Linked DNA regions of Homo sapiens: all the other regions are linked to region 3. The links are contacts of gene promoters, found by promoter capture Hi-C in blood cells and fetal thymus (Javierre and others, 2016). All regions are on one chromosome and are shown on one strand. The core of a region is centred on a gene start or on the middle of the fragment in contact, and the rest is flanking DNA. Distances in the headings are between cores, read along the strand shown.

The links. Contacts are between HindIII fragments. The CHiCAGO score rates a contact against its expected background, and 5 or more counts as called.
Region 1: the fragment with the promoter of ST20-MTHFS here is called in contact with the fragment with the promoter of TLNRD1 in region 3 in 1 of 17 cell types (total CD4 T cells); the score reaches 7.1 in total CD4 T cells.
Region 2: a fragment that was not itself captured here is called in contact with the fragment with the promoter of TLNRD1 in region 3 in 1 of 17 cell types (fetal thymus); the score reaches 6.0 in fetal thymus.

Annotation. Positions count from the first base shown.
Region 1 is chr15:79,920,456-79,924,534 of GRCh38, reverse strand. It overlaps ST20-MTHFS (ST20-MTHFS readthrough), which reads left to right and starts at 1,443. Exons shown (of 4, transcript NM_001199760.2): 1 at 1,443-1,496. ST20 (suppressor of tumorigenicity 20) reads left to right here and starts at 783. Exons shown (of 3, transcript NR_037653.2): 1 at 783-1,083. ST20-AS1 (ST20 antisense RNA 1) reads right to left here and starts at 1,764. Exons shown (of 1, transcript NR_028330.1): 1 at 1-1,764. RefSeq lists enhancers at 1-204, 406-455, 886-1,065 and silencers at 596-745, 1,366-1,415, 1,426-1,495, 1,516-1,625. The HindIII fragment of the contact is 4,343 bases long and covers 1-1,927 here.
Region 2 is chr15:82,053,126-82,057,047 of GRCh38, reverse strand. No RefSeq gene overlaps it. Among named protein-coding and RNA genes, the nearest start is that of MEX3B, 9.1 kb to the right of the region's middle. The HindIII fragment of the contact is 7,919 bases long and covers 1-3,922 here.
Region 3 is chr15:80,999,069-81,003,107 of GRCh38, reverse strand. It overlaps TLNRD1 (talin rod domain containing 1), which reads right to left and starts at 2,185. Exons shown (of 1, transcript NM_022566.3): 1 at 1-2,185. The coding sequence starts at 836. It overlaps LOC128071545, which reads right to left and starts at 966. Exons shown (of 1, transcript NM_001414893.1): 1 at 829-966. The coding sequence starts at 966. The coding sequence ends at 829. RefSeq lists an enhancer at 1-394 and silencers at 888-1,017, 1,368-1,827, 1,868-2,557. The HindIII fragment of the contact is 6,287 bases long and covers 1-4,039 here.

The DNA of each region.
Region 1 (4,079 bases), core at 194-2,693, 1.1 Mb after region 3:
AATGGCGAAACCCCGTCTCTACTAAAATACAAAAATCAGCGAGGCGTGGTGGCGCCCGCCTGTAATCCCAGTTACTCGGGAGGCTGAGGCAGGAGAATCGCTTTAAACCGGGAGGCGGAGGTTGCAGAGCCAAGATCGGGCCATTGCACTCCAGCCTCGGTGACAAAATATAATAATAATAAAATTAAAAAGGGCTTAGCATAGTATCTGGCCAGTAAGAAGAAATTATGATTATTATTTTGACCTTAGACCTCTCTTAACTGTCTGAAATTCGGGTTTCTTAAAGGACACAGGCGGTCTCTGAGGCTCCCGCCAGCGGAAACAATCTCCCATTAAAATAGGCATCGGTTAAATATTTGCTGAACAAAGTAAACTACGTCTCCCCGAATCCCATTGAGCGCCTACTCGAGATCCGGACCGGAGCCGGGCAGGACGGGCCCGTCGGTCCCACACGCCGTATAAGTGGGTGGAGAATACCCCACACGCCCAGACCAATAGGCGGGGTGAACGAGGACCGTGTTCACCAACTCAGCCCGGCTCGCGGAATGCCTTCTGTTCGCCTCCGGGCTTGCAGTGGCTTTCCGTCGCAGGTCAGGCCGCGTTCCACTTCCGCCGGCAGTCCAGACACGCCCCTCCGGGTCCAATCCCCGCCCCTCACACACCTGGCCCCGCCCCGTCGGGAGCTCGGCGGTCCTCTCTGCGCTAGGTCTTCTTAGCGCCCGACGGGGCCACGCCCATCCCCGACGCTCTGAGGTCACCTACAGGGCCGACCCTCGGTGGGCGGAGGGACGGAGGGAAGATGGCTGCAGAGACCGGATATTGGCGCTGCCTCCCCGAATCCCGGACCTGCGCTGAGGAGGCGGTTCATCTGTGGCCAGCGGTGCTTCGGGACCCGCGCTGGGGGAACCCTGGCGACGGGGCCTGGCCCTGCTATATGCGGGGGCCTCGGCTGGAGTGAGCGGCGTGGACGCCTCTTTCCTCCGGCTCTTCCCTTGTTGCTGCGAGAGCGAGAGGGCCGCGGGCGGCGGAGGCAGCGGGGCCGGGATGGAGGACGTTAACTCTAACGTGAACGCGGACCAGGAGGTGCGGAAGCTGCAGGTGCCGGTGAAGAAGCTGGGGAAGCAGCACGAACAGCCGAGGAGCCGCTCGCGCTGTGCTGGGCCCCGGCTCCATCGCGGTTCGCCGGCTCCTCCACTCCCTCCTACGGCGCGGGGTCCCCTCGGGGCTTCCCCTTGGGTCTCAGCGCAAAGTCGGGCGGCGGGGCCGGATGGACCCGAGGCGGACGAATAACGAGGAGCTGCGAGACGCCACCTTCTTGCTGGCGGCGGGGGAGGGCGGCTTGCTAGACGACCTGGAGCGTCTGTCAGGCTAGGAGGAGGGGGAGGAGAGCTGGTGAGCGCCGGGCGCCGGGCGGGGCTGGGCGGGGACGCCCCGGTGGCGGAGGACGTCCCGGAGGATCCCTCTGGTCGGGCGCCTGGCTTTGTGTAGCCAGCCAGGTCCGCTCTCGGCGGGTACTCGTGGTCTTGCTCTGGCAGAGGGGAGGTCAGTTGGAGTTGGGGGTTCGAGGCTTGCAAGTACAGGGCTTGTAGCTCCTTCTCTGGATTGTGGACCCTCTGGGTGCTGGGCCCTATTGGGGTTGGTGGGTTGGTTGGATCCAGAAGGGCTGTTCGCCGTGGGGAGGAGTCGGAGGTGGGAAACTGCTTTGTAGGCAGGGATTCTGCTTTGTATAGGAGACCAGCTTTCGGATGCTGGTCTGGGCATTTTGGATGTTGGGGAGGGGTTTGGCTTGATGAGGTATCACCAAGTTCGGGGGGTGCAGACCAAAGTCGCCGACGTCTATGCAGCGGTTGGTGTTTGGGATCAATTTCTAGCGTGGATGGGGAGACCATGTGGATCAGCACTCCCCTTTAGGTAGTGGGGTAAAGCTTGCTCTGTGTGAAGAGGTCAGAGGATGGTGGTGTTTTGTGTGAAGAATCAAGGGTGAAACAAGAGCCCTGGCTCTGATATTTTAAAACAAGAATTGAGTCTGGCATTTTGCAGAGCTCTGAATTGACATTTATCACATCTATCCTTCATTTCCATGTCCTCCTATGGGCAGAAAAGAGTCCTATTTTAATACCTAAACCAAAGCTGTATTGTCATAAGCCACTTCTTGATGAAATTGTGACACACACCTTAATATCACTTTCATAAATAGGAAATGGGAGGCTTTTCTCCTCATTTTATTATAAAGATGTCTGTGGGAAATTCTCTTAATTCATCCTCTTTAAAATTTTACCTTTTAGCTAAAATGTCTCTGTTGAAATTCAAATTTCTAACTTAGTGAAATCGAAATCATTCATAGACTGTAGTATTGCAGGGCTCGAACTGTGCAGTGTTCTGAGGTAGTTAAGAGCTTTGCTGGATTCAGGCCCTGGGTTTGCCCAGGCCTGTATGACCTTGAGCAAGTTATTCTGAGCTTCACTTTCTTCCTCTATGATGGAGAAAATAATGATAGCACTTACCTCTATAGAGTTATGAAAATTTAGTAAGATAATCCATGTATGCATTTAGCACTGTTGAGATCTTGGCTTACTGCAAGCTCCGCCTCCTGGGTTCACACCGTTCTCCTGCCTCAGCCTCCCGAGTAGTTGGGACTACAGGCACTGGCCACCACTCCCTGCTAATTTTTTGTTTTCGTATTTTTAGAAGAGACGGGTTTCACCGTGTTAGCCAGGATGGCCTCGATCTGACCTCGTGATCCTCCCGCCTCGGCCTTCCAAAGAGCTGGGATTACAGGCATGAGCCACCATGCCCAGCCTATTACTCTTAAGCCTAGTTATTTAAATCAAACATTTAGTGAGCTCTTACATGATGTTATAGGAGACTCTGAAGATTCTCAACTGTTGATTCCTGTTCATAAGGCAGTTATAGTCTTGTTGAGAACTAAGTTTTATGCAGATAAATAAACTAGAAAGTGTATGGTGAATTGCCGAAAGAGAGAACAAAAGTACTGTCAGTGCGCAGTAACTGGGAAGAAAACAGTAGTCCAAAGTAGAGGGGCCAAACTTTGAGGAGGAGGCTTTGGAGTCTGGAAGTGAGGAAAGAGTGGGAAGGGCATTTTATGCTCTGACAGCTACAAGAGCAGAGTCAGAGATATTTGTAACTCCCAGTTAGGAGATTTGAATAACAGAAGTACTCTTGAGTATATGGTGACAAACCTTTATTTTTTATTTACTATTTTTTTTTTTTTTTGAGACGGAGTCTCGCTCTGTTGCCCTGGCTGGAGTGCAGTGGCATGATCTCAGCTCACTGCAACCTCCGCCTCCCAGGTTCAAGCAATTCTTCTGCCCCAGCCTCCCAAGTAGCTGGGACTGCAGGTGCCCACCCCCATGCCCAGCTAATTTTTGTGTTTTTAGTAGAGATGGAGTTTCACCATACTGGCCAGGCTGGTCTCGAACTCCAGACCTCGTGATCTGCCCGCCTTGGCCTCCCAAAGTGCTGCGTGAGCCACCGCACCCAGCCGACAAACCTTTATTACCAGGTGATATCAAATATTATTAGAGCTGACTGTGGTAGTGACAGTTTTTCATATAAATGAAATTGCATCCTCCCAAAGGAATCCTGAGTATGTATGCACTTTAAAAGAACCCAGAATCATCTAAATATTGTCACATGGCTCTTGCAAGTGATGATAATAGTGATGCTTATAATAATGAGGATTAGCTGCACTCATCAGCCTGTAGAAAGTAAAAAGTTTCCTTTTCGAAATTTCCTTTCTTGTTAAAGAATAAATCATAAGTGTTAGAAATAATAGTTTCTTTTAAAGACTAACTTCCTTCAAGCCTCCTCTGCTCTGTGCTAATGACTCTTCATTAAGCCCTATCCTATGTAGCTGTTAGATATAAGGGAATAAGTATATTCTATGTCCTTGTACTTTAACCAAGATATTTGTGCTGGACATGCTCACAGGCACGTTCCAGCTTGCAGCCTATGCCCCTTCCTTATTTGGAAATATTATTACTTTTCTAAGTCTTTTTGCAAGCAACTTCTTCTTTTCCTTTGTTCTCTATTGCCTTTCCCTATATAGGAAAGTTTTA
Region 2 (3,922 bases), core at 469-2,968, 1.1 Mb before region 3:
GGTTTGTAATTATACATTTATTTGTGTGTGATCAATGCTAGTCTCCTCACTGGATTCTAAACTCCCTGAGAGCTTTTCTGTCTTAATTACCCTGAACTCCAGTGCCCACACAGTACCTGGCACATAGCTCATGCTGTAAATATCTGTGGAAAGAAGGAAGAAATGGAGAAAAGGAAGGGAGGAAGGAACAGAAGGGAGAAAGGAAAACGGAAAAAAAGAAATGTTCCAGGTGGAAGGATTTTTTTTTTTTTTTACAATCATCCTGCCCAACAGTATATAGGTTTGCCTGTGATCTTTTTCTCATACATAAGATGGAGATAATAGTCCTTGTCTCAATAGTTATTTTACGTTATTTTCTAACTCAAATAGTTAAAAGTCATTTGTAGGCCCCTGCTCTGGGCCCATGCTTTGTAGGATCTCACTGTCGCTGTCCTCAGGCTGTGCCCCTTCCTAGAGTATGAAGTCCCGGTGGGACTTTAAGCCTATGCTCCCCTTCCCCTTCCTCCGCATCTGTGGGGACTTCTCCCCGACAGTTCACGCAGGTCTCCACCACAAGTGTGCATGCCCTAGGCCCAAGGGGTGTCCAAGGAGTGACTATTTGTAGGGGATGAGCCATGGATGGAACTGTGGTGTCTGCACACATGTGCCTAAGACCCTCTCCCATTGTGGGATGGAGCCTGCAGTTCAGTAGGGGGAATGAAGGGAGGTGTGAATCATGGCTCTTGACCCAGGCCCGCCTCTCTCTGTGTGGCCAGGGTTCAGGGCAGAACCTCAGGAGGCTGGAAGTTGTAGCTTCTAACCTGGCCTTTCAGGTCATGATGAAGGTCTATTTGTCAGGGTAAGAGGTTCAAACCTCCTGCAATAGTCCTATTCAGCAGCTGATAGCTTGGTTTATAACTTTTGAATATTTAGATGTATTCCACGTGGGCAAATAGGAACACACACACATATATATGTATATTTGTGCATTTATATGTGTGGGCATGTGTGTGCACGTGTGTGTACATATATAATTCTATAGTTCACCTGTTAGTGTACCTTGATGATGAAAAGTGAGGGAGGACCCTGACTTTGGACAGCATGGATCTGCCTGCCACTTACCAGCTAAACTGTTTCCTTAGGGCAAAAATAGAGACAACAATAGTACCTATTTAGTTGGATTATTGACATTATTAAAAGAGAGCAACTAACATACTCCTAGAATATAAGTGCTCCATGCATATTATAAACTAACAATTGTTTCCTGCTCCTTTCACTTCATGCATGAAGACATATTCACTCACTCATAAATACTTGCATTATATCTATCTATCTATCTATCTATCTATCTATCTATCTATCTATCATCTATCAACAAAGTCTTGTTCTGTTGCCCAGGCTAGAGTGCAGTGGTGTGATCCTAGCTCACTGTAGCCTCGAACTCCTGTGCTCAAGCAATTCTCCCACTTCAGCCTCCTGAGTAGCTGGGACTACAGATGTGCACCACCATGCCTGGCTAATTTTTGCATTTATTTGTAGAGATGAGCTCTCACTATGTCGCCCAGGCTGGTCTCGAACTCCTGGGCTCAAGTGATCCTTCTGCCTCGGCCTCCCAAAGTGCTGGGATTAGGAGTGTGAGCCACCATACTCGGCCATTATGTATATTTCTTATTCAATCTGAGAACTAACTATAATATTATTCATTTACTATTTTAGTTCAAGTTGATTTCCTTTTAAAACATACACACCAAGTTTATGTGTATTGATACCAGTGGTTTCCCAGGTGTTTTTTTGTTGTTGTTTTGTTTTTTCAGATTCTCATTCTGTTGCTGGAGTGCAGTGGCGCTATCTTGGCTCACTGCAACCTCTGCCTCCCGGGTTCAAGCGATTCTCCTGCCTCAGCCTCCCGAGTAGCTGGGACTACAGACACGTGCCACCACGCCCAGCTAATTTTTGTATCTGTAGTAGAGATGGGGTTTCACCATGTTGGCCAGGATGGTCTCGATCTCTTGACCTCATGATCCACCCGCCTTGGCCTCCCAAAGTGCTGGGATTACAGACGTGAGCCACCATGCCTGGCCTTATATAGGTATTTCACAAAATGATTTCCTCTATTAGGACCATATTCAAAAAGCCCTTCCCCTACTCCACAATTACAGAAGCAGTCACATACATTCCATTTGATTCTTCTCTATGATTTCATTTTTGAAACTTAATTCCTTAACCCACCTGGAATTTATTGCGGTGTTGTTGTGAGGTTAAGAAAAAAAAAAATCAATCTAATATAATGTTTCTAAAAAGCCAGTTGTCTCGGCATCATTTTTGGAATAATCTTTCCCCTCATCATTCATTTACATTTCTACCTTTGTCACATAGTTAATACTTTTTTTCAATTTGGGTTTCTTTCTAAACCTGTAAGTCAATTTTAATGATCTAGTTAACTTTTGATGCCAGTATATACCGTTTTAATTCTTGCAGGTGCATAACAGTTAATACAGCAGAGCGCAAGGGCTGCTTAGTTTTCTTGTTTTTCCCTTTTATTTTGGGTGGGTTGGGGAAGGGAACAAGGTCTTGCTCTGTTGCCCAGGCTGGAGTGCAGCAGCGTGATCACAGCTCACCACAGCCTCAACCTCTTGGGCTCAAGCCATCTTCCCACCTCAGCCTCCTGAGTAGCTGTGATTACAGGGGTGCGCCACCATGACCAGCTAATTTTTTTTTTTTTTTTTTGTAAAGACAGTGGTCTTGCTTTGTTGCCTAGGCTGGTCTCGAACTCCTGGGCTCAAACCCACCTCAGCCTCCCAGAGTGCTAGAATTACAAACATGAGCCACTGTGCCTGGCCATTTTTCTTCTTTTTCAAAGTTGATCAATTATGTGAGCATCACCACTAGAATCTGCAAATGTCTCCTGTATCGGCAACGAGGGAGGTACCATAAGCACCCTTCTTTTACAGATGAGGAAACTGAGCACAGAAAGAAGAGACACTTGCTCAAGGTCACAAAAACAAGGCAGGTCCAGGAACAGTGAAACACAGGCAGTCTAGCTGCAGGGACCACGATCATAACCTCTGCAAAGTGGGGCAGATCCAACCTGAGAATCAATCTCCTTCAAGTCGGAGCATTTTCTCCTCATATCTATTATTACTGACTTCTTAGTATTTGTTTTATTTATTTGGTTGTTTAATGATTTCATATGTTTCCCTGTGTTTCGTTATATACTTTCTATTTATAATGCTTCTTAAAGTTTTCTGGTTACAGACTATTTTCTTTCTTTTTTTCTGAGATGTGGAACTTACCATGGTTCATATTTTAAACTCTTTGGCTAGGTTTACTAATAATTGTGCTTACCCGAAAGCATTCTTTAACTGCTATTTCTTTGGTTTTCAAGGTCAGTGACTCTTTATATGGCTGCATACACATTTTAGTACAATGATAACTGGATAATTTTAATAAAGTTGTATAAGATATAGTTTACGAACATAAAAATGATTCTATTATTAGCTAAAATTTCAGCAGCACTGTTGACATAATTTTTATTGTTTTAATTAAATTGCATGGAAAAGAAATAATTTTATCATAAGAATAAAGAGGATGATAGTTCAAAGTTATTTGTGAGAATATCGTGGCTGTATTGCATTAGCATCTTGACTTTTAAGGTGATGTTTAATAGAGACACAACAATTCTTTAGGTCGTAAAGGCAATTCTTGCTGTTTTAAAAAAATGTTATGACAACAGGTGTGATCACATAAAGTATTAGTAAAGATGAAACAATTTTAAATATTTTCCACTCTATATTCTACTGCTTTATAAGAAGGCTGACAAGAAAACCCTCATTTCACTAGATCATATCTACATCTCACTGGCAGGAAAGAAGGGCCCATATGAGTTACTTACCTAAGTAGGAACTATTATTCCTGTTTTACAGATGAGAAAACCAAAGCTCAG
Region 3 (4,039 bases), core at 936-3,435:
GCGCTCACAGCTGCCGCGCGACCCAGGAACTGCGGCTCGGTGGCGAAGCCTACCAGGGCGCTCACTGCCTGCACCAGGGGCCCGCTGAAGAGCGCACAGCGGCTGCGCGCCAGCTCACTGGGCGCCACCTTCACCTCGCGCACGCAGGCCAGCAGCGCCGACGCGCTGGTGCTCATGCACTTGACGCCCAGCTTGAACTGCTCCCGCGAAAAGCGGTCCCGTGACTTGTCACTGGCCAGGGCGCACGCGTCCGTCAGGAACTTGAGGTTGCGCGACAGGCCCTGCGACACCTCCAGCAGCAGCTGCGGCGTCATGTCGGCCAGCGGCGTGGCGCGCAGCACGGCGCAACCCTGCTCCACCTCGTGGCGGCATCGCGTCACGCGGTAGCGGTCCACCAGGCCCGGCTGCGCGGGCTGGGCGCCCGGCGTGGCCACAGCGGCCAGATAGGCCGCGTGGGCCGAGCACTCGGTCAGCGACACCACCAGGTCGCCCAGCTCCACCAGGCTGTCCCCCGCCTCCCCGAAGCGGCCCATGTTGAGCTGGCTCTGCACGTCGTGGGTGAGGATGGAGAGCCCCTTGGTGCGCGCGATGATGGTGTCCCGGCACTGCTCGAAGGACTCGGCGCCGGCACCAGAGGAGGCGGGGCCCTCGAAGAGCACGGGCCGCGCCTCGCTCGACAGCAGCAGCAGGTCAGCCACCAGCTGCATCTTGCCCTTGCAGTGGTCGCAGACGGATACCAGCCTCTTCCGCGGCTGCGAGCTGGCCCCGCCGATGGCGCTCGCAGGAGCCGGAGAAGCCGCCTCGCCAGTGGGCTTCCCGGCGCTGCCGCTAGCCATCGCGCCCGGGGGGCACTGGCATGCCGCTGGGGAGCCCGCTACCACCGCCGCTGCCGCGGCCACTGCCGCCGCCCCGGCGGCCGTCGCGACTCAGCTGGCCAAGGCCGCGGTGCCTTCCCCGCACCATCATGCCATCCACCGCCGCGGGCAGAGGGCACTGGGCTGCGGCGGCGGGAGCCCGGGCGGCGCGGGGTGGGCCCGAGGGCGAGAGAACGCGGAAGGCTCTTCGGGGCAAGGGGAGGGGCTGCAGCTTTCGGCCTCCTAGAGGGCTTGCAGGAACCATGAACCGGGGCAGAGCAAACTCACTGTCCGCGCTCCTCGTCGCCGGGCTGCCAGGAAAGTCCCTTCTGCTGGTTCGCCGCCGCCGCCGCCTTCTTGGGCATGGCCTGGCGCGGCCCTCGGAGCGGGGAGGGCGGGACGGGGAAGCTGGGAGTTGTCCTTCCTTCCTTCCTTTCTTTGAAATCAAAATCCTTTCCTCGGGGAGGAGCGCGGGAGGCAGCTCAGGCGGGCTGTGCTGTCAGCCGCCGCGCTCGAGGCCACCTCGGGCTCGGCGGCGCACGTGGGCTTCAGGCGCCGTGACCCCACCAGGCGGCACTTCCCCGCGACGGCGGCCGGGGCTGGCTCTCTGGGACGCGCGGCCGCCCCGGGCGCATCTCCTGCCTCCAGCTCTTGGGAAGCGGCGCCGGCGGCAGCGGGGCAGAGGGTGTGGCCGGCACTGTCGCGGCCGCGCCGAGTCAGAGTCGGGCGGGAGCCTGCACTGATTGCGCACAGCGGCCGCCCGGATCGCGCTCAAGCTCTCGCCCGCCCGCCACACGCCCGGGCGTGCCGAGCACCACGGCGGCCCCTTCCCGCCTCGCCGGTTCACAGAGCGCGGCCCGGCGCCGCGGCGGCACGCCCTCCCAGACCGCGCGCCCGGCGGCCCGGCGCTGGCTGTCTACGCAAGTCCATCCCTGTCGCCTCGTCTGGGGCCCGCAGCAGCTGAGCTCTCCCGAGGCCCCGGGCCCCGCGCATCGGACGCCCCTGCACGAGTCTCCCTGCCACCGGGCCAACTCAGAAGGTCCCCGCGGCGCTGCGGCAACCGGCCCGGGCCCCGGCTCCTGCCATTTTTGTCAACCGCCAACTTCCGAGCGAGCGGGCAGAAACTGAAAGGAAGGGCGGGGGCCGAAAGGCAGAGGGGAAAACACCCGCTTCCTCTCCGCGCGCGGCTTCACCTCGGAGCGCGGCCGTGGCTGCGCCGCCGCCCGCAGGGGCTGCCGGAGGCTTTTCCTGTTCCCGTCCGCGCCTCGCCCCCGGGCTCGCCGCCGCCGCCGCCTCGGCCGTAACCTCCCTGGAGCCTATAGAAATCTTTTGTGTGGCGTCACCGCCTTTCGTTTAAATCCCGCTTCCTCCTCTCGCCCTTCCTCCCGCCCCCTCCGCCGCTCCCGGATGCTTGCGCGATGCGCTGCTCCTCCCCCGGGAAGCTGGGTGGCTGCGGGGGACGCCGCCGCCCAACGCGGACGCTGCCGGCGTGGGGCCGGTGGTCCTGAACTCCCCCGTGGTCCTGGGCCGAGAGACTGGGGGAGCGGACAGGGGAAGGCCTGCTCCGGCCCGGGGGCTCTGCGCACACCCATGGGAGACCGGGGCGCAGCCGCCCGCGGGCCTTACGTAAGCTCTTAGCCGGACCAGGGGGCTCCACGCTTCCTCCCCGCCAAGAGAGCAAGTCTAAAAGGTGACCTGGCTTCTGGGCTGAAGGGAGGAGGACACTGGATTTCGGCCCCTGGTGATTTGCTGGGGCCGGTGGGTCGTCTCGGTCTGCGCGACTTCGCCCGGTTTTCCAACGCCCCCTGCCCTTTGTTGTGTTTGATCCACTTCCACGATGGGTTTCCGACCAGCAGTGCAGTGTAACGAAAAGAGGAAAAGAGCACTGGATGGGGAGTCCGAAGAGTGGTGCTAGATGCCTGCCCGTTCCTCCCTTGAAATACGCCTTATGCAGTGAGAGCGCGGGTTCTGAAGCAGATTTCCTAGGATCAGCCTTTCTCAAGCCATTTATGAGTTCCATGACATTGTTCAAGTTCTCTTTCCAAGTATCCGTCTTCTCTTCTAGAAATTAGAGATTGTGCACAGGCTGCTTGAGTACTTGGTTCCTAAACAGTAGCTGTTAGAATTATTATGAGCCCTGATCAGCGCACTTTGCCCTCTCATAACGTCTATTTATTCGTCTGTATAATGGAATAATAGTGGCTGCTGTTAAATGAATTAAATACGACGGCGTTTGGAGGGAAACATTACTACTCCAGTTTTACAGATAAGGAAACTGATGATCAGGTGCTTGAAGTGACTTCCGAAGATCAGGAAGACAGCATATGGCAGGGACAGGAACCCACGCCTACGCCCCAGCCTCTTTTTACCGAACCTTGTTCTTCAGGAAGTGGTTAAAACACCTGGGCTACTCCCAGCAAAACGCCAGTCACGCAGTCCTGAAACAGGTCCTCTAAGGTGCCCAGCCCAACACAGGCTGGGCGTGCTGAGCCAACAGAATGTTTGTTCCTCTGTCCCTTCCTAGAACCCCAAGTCACCTTTCTCCAGCCAGTTAAAAACGTTACTTTTAACTAGGATGACGTTTCAATTTATCGGCCATATCCAAGCATTTCTGAGAATGAACTGTGAGACATGCTATTAATAAATTAACCATGAACAGCAGGTTCAAACCTGGATGGATAGTCATCCTACTTATAACTGAAAGTATCCTTAAATATCTTTAGAATCCGGATGAGCCCACTTAGTTTGCAAACCGAGGTCAATAAAACTGACTTGAAATAGGAAGTAATTATGTAGGGTTAATTCCTTTTTTTCTTCTACAAGAGAAAAAAAAAACAGCTGGATAAGTCAAGGTTTTTCCATGGTGACCCAGGGATTGCACCTTAGTCCTTCTTAAGCTCCAAAAACTTATGAGAGGGGGCCGAAAGCGATGGCTCACACCTGTAATCCCAGCACTTTGGGAGGCCAAGGCAGGCGCATCACGAGGTCAGGAGATCAAGACCATCCTGGCTAACACAGTGAAACCCCGTCTCTACTAAAAATGCAAAAAATTAGCCGGGCATGGTGGCGGGCGCCTGTAGTCCCAGCTACTCGGGAGGCTGAGGCAGGAGAATGGCATGAACCCGGGAGGCGGAGCTTGCAGTGAGCGGAGATCGCGCCACTGCACTGCAGCCTGGGCGACAGAG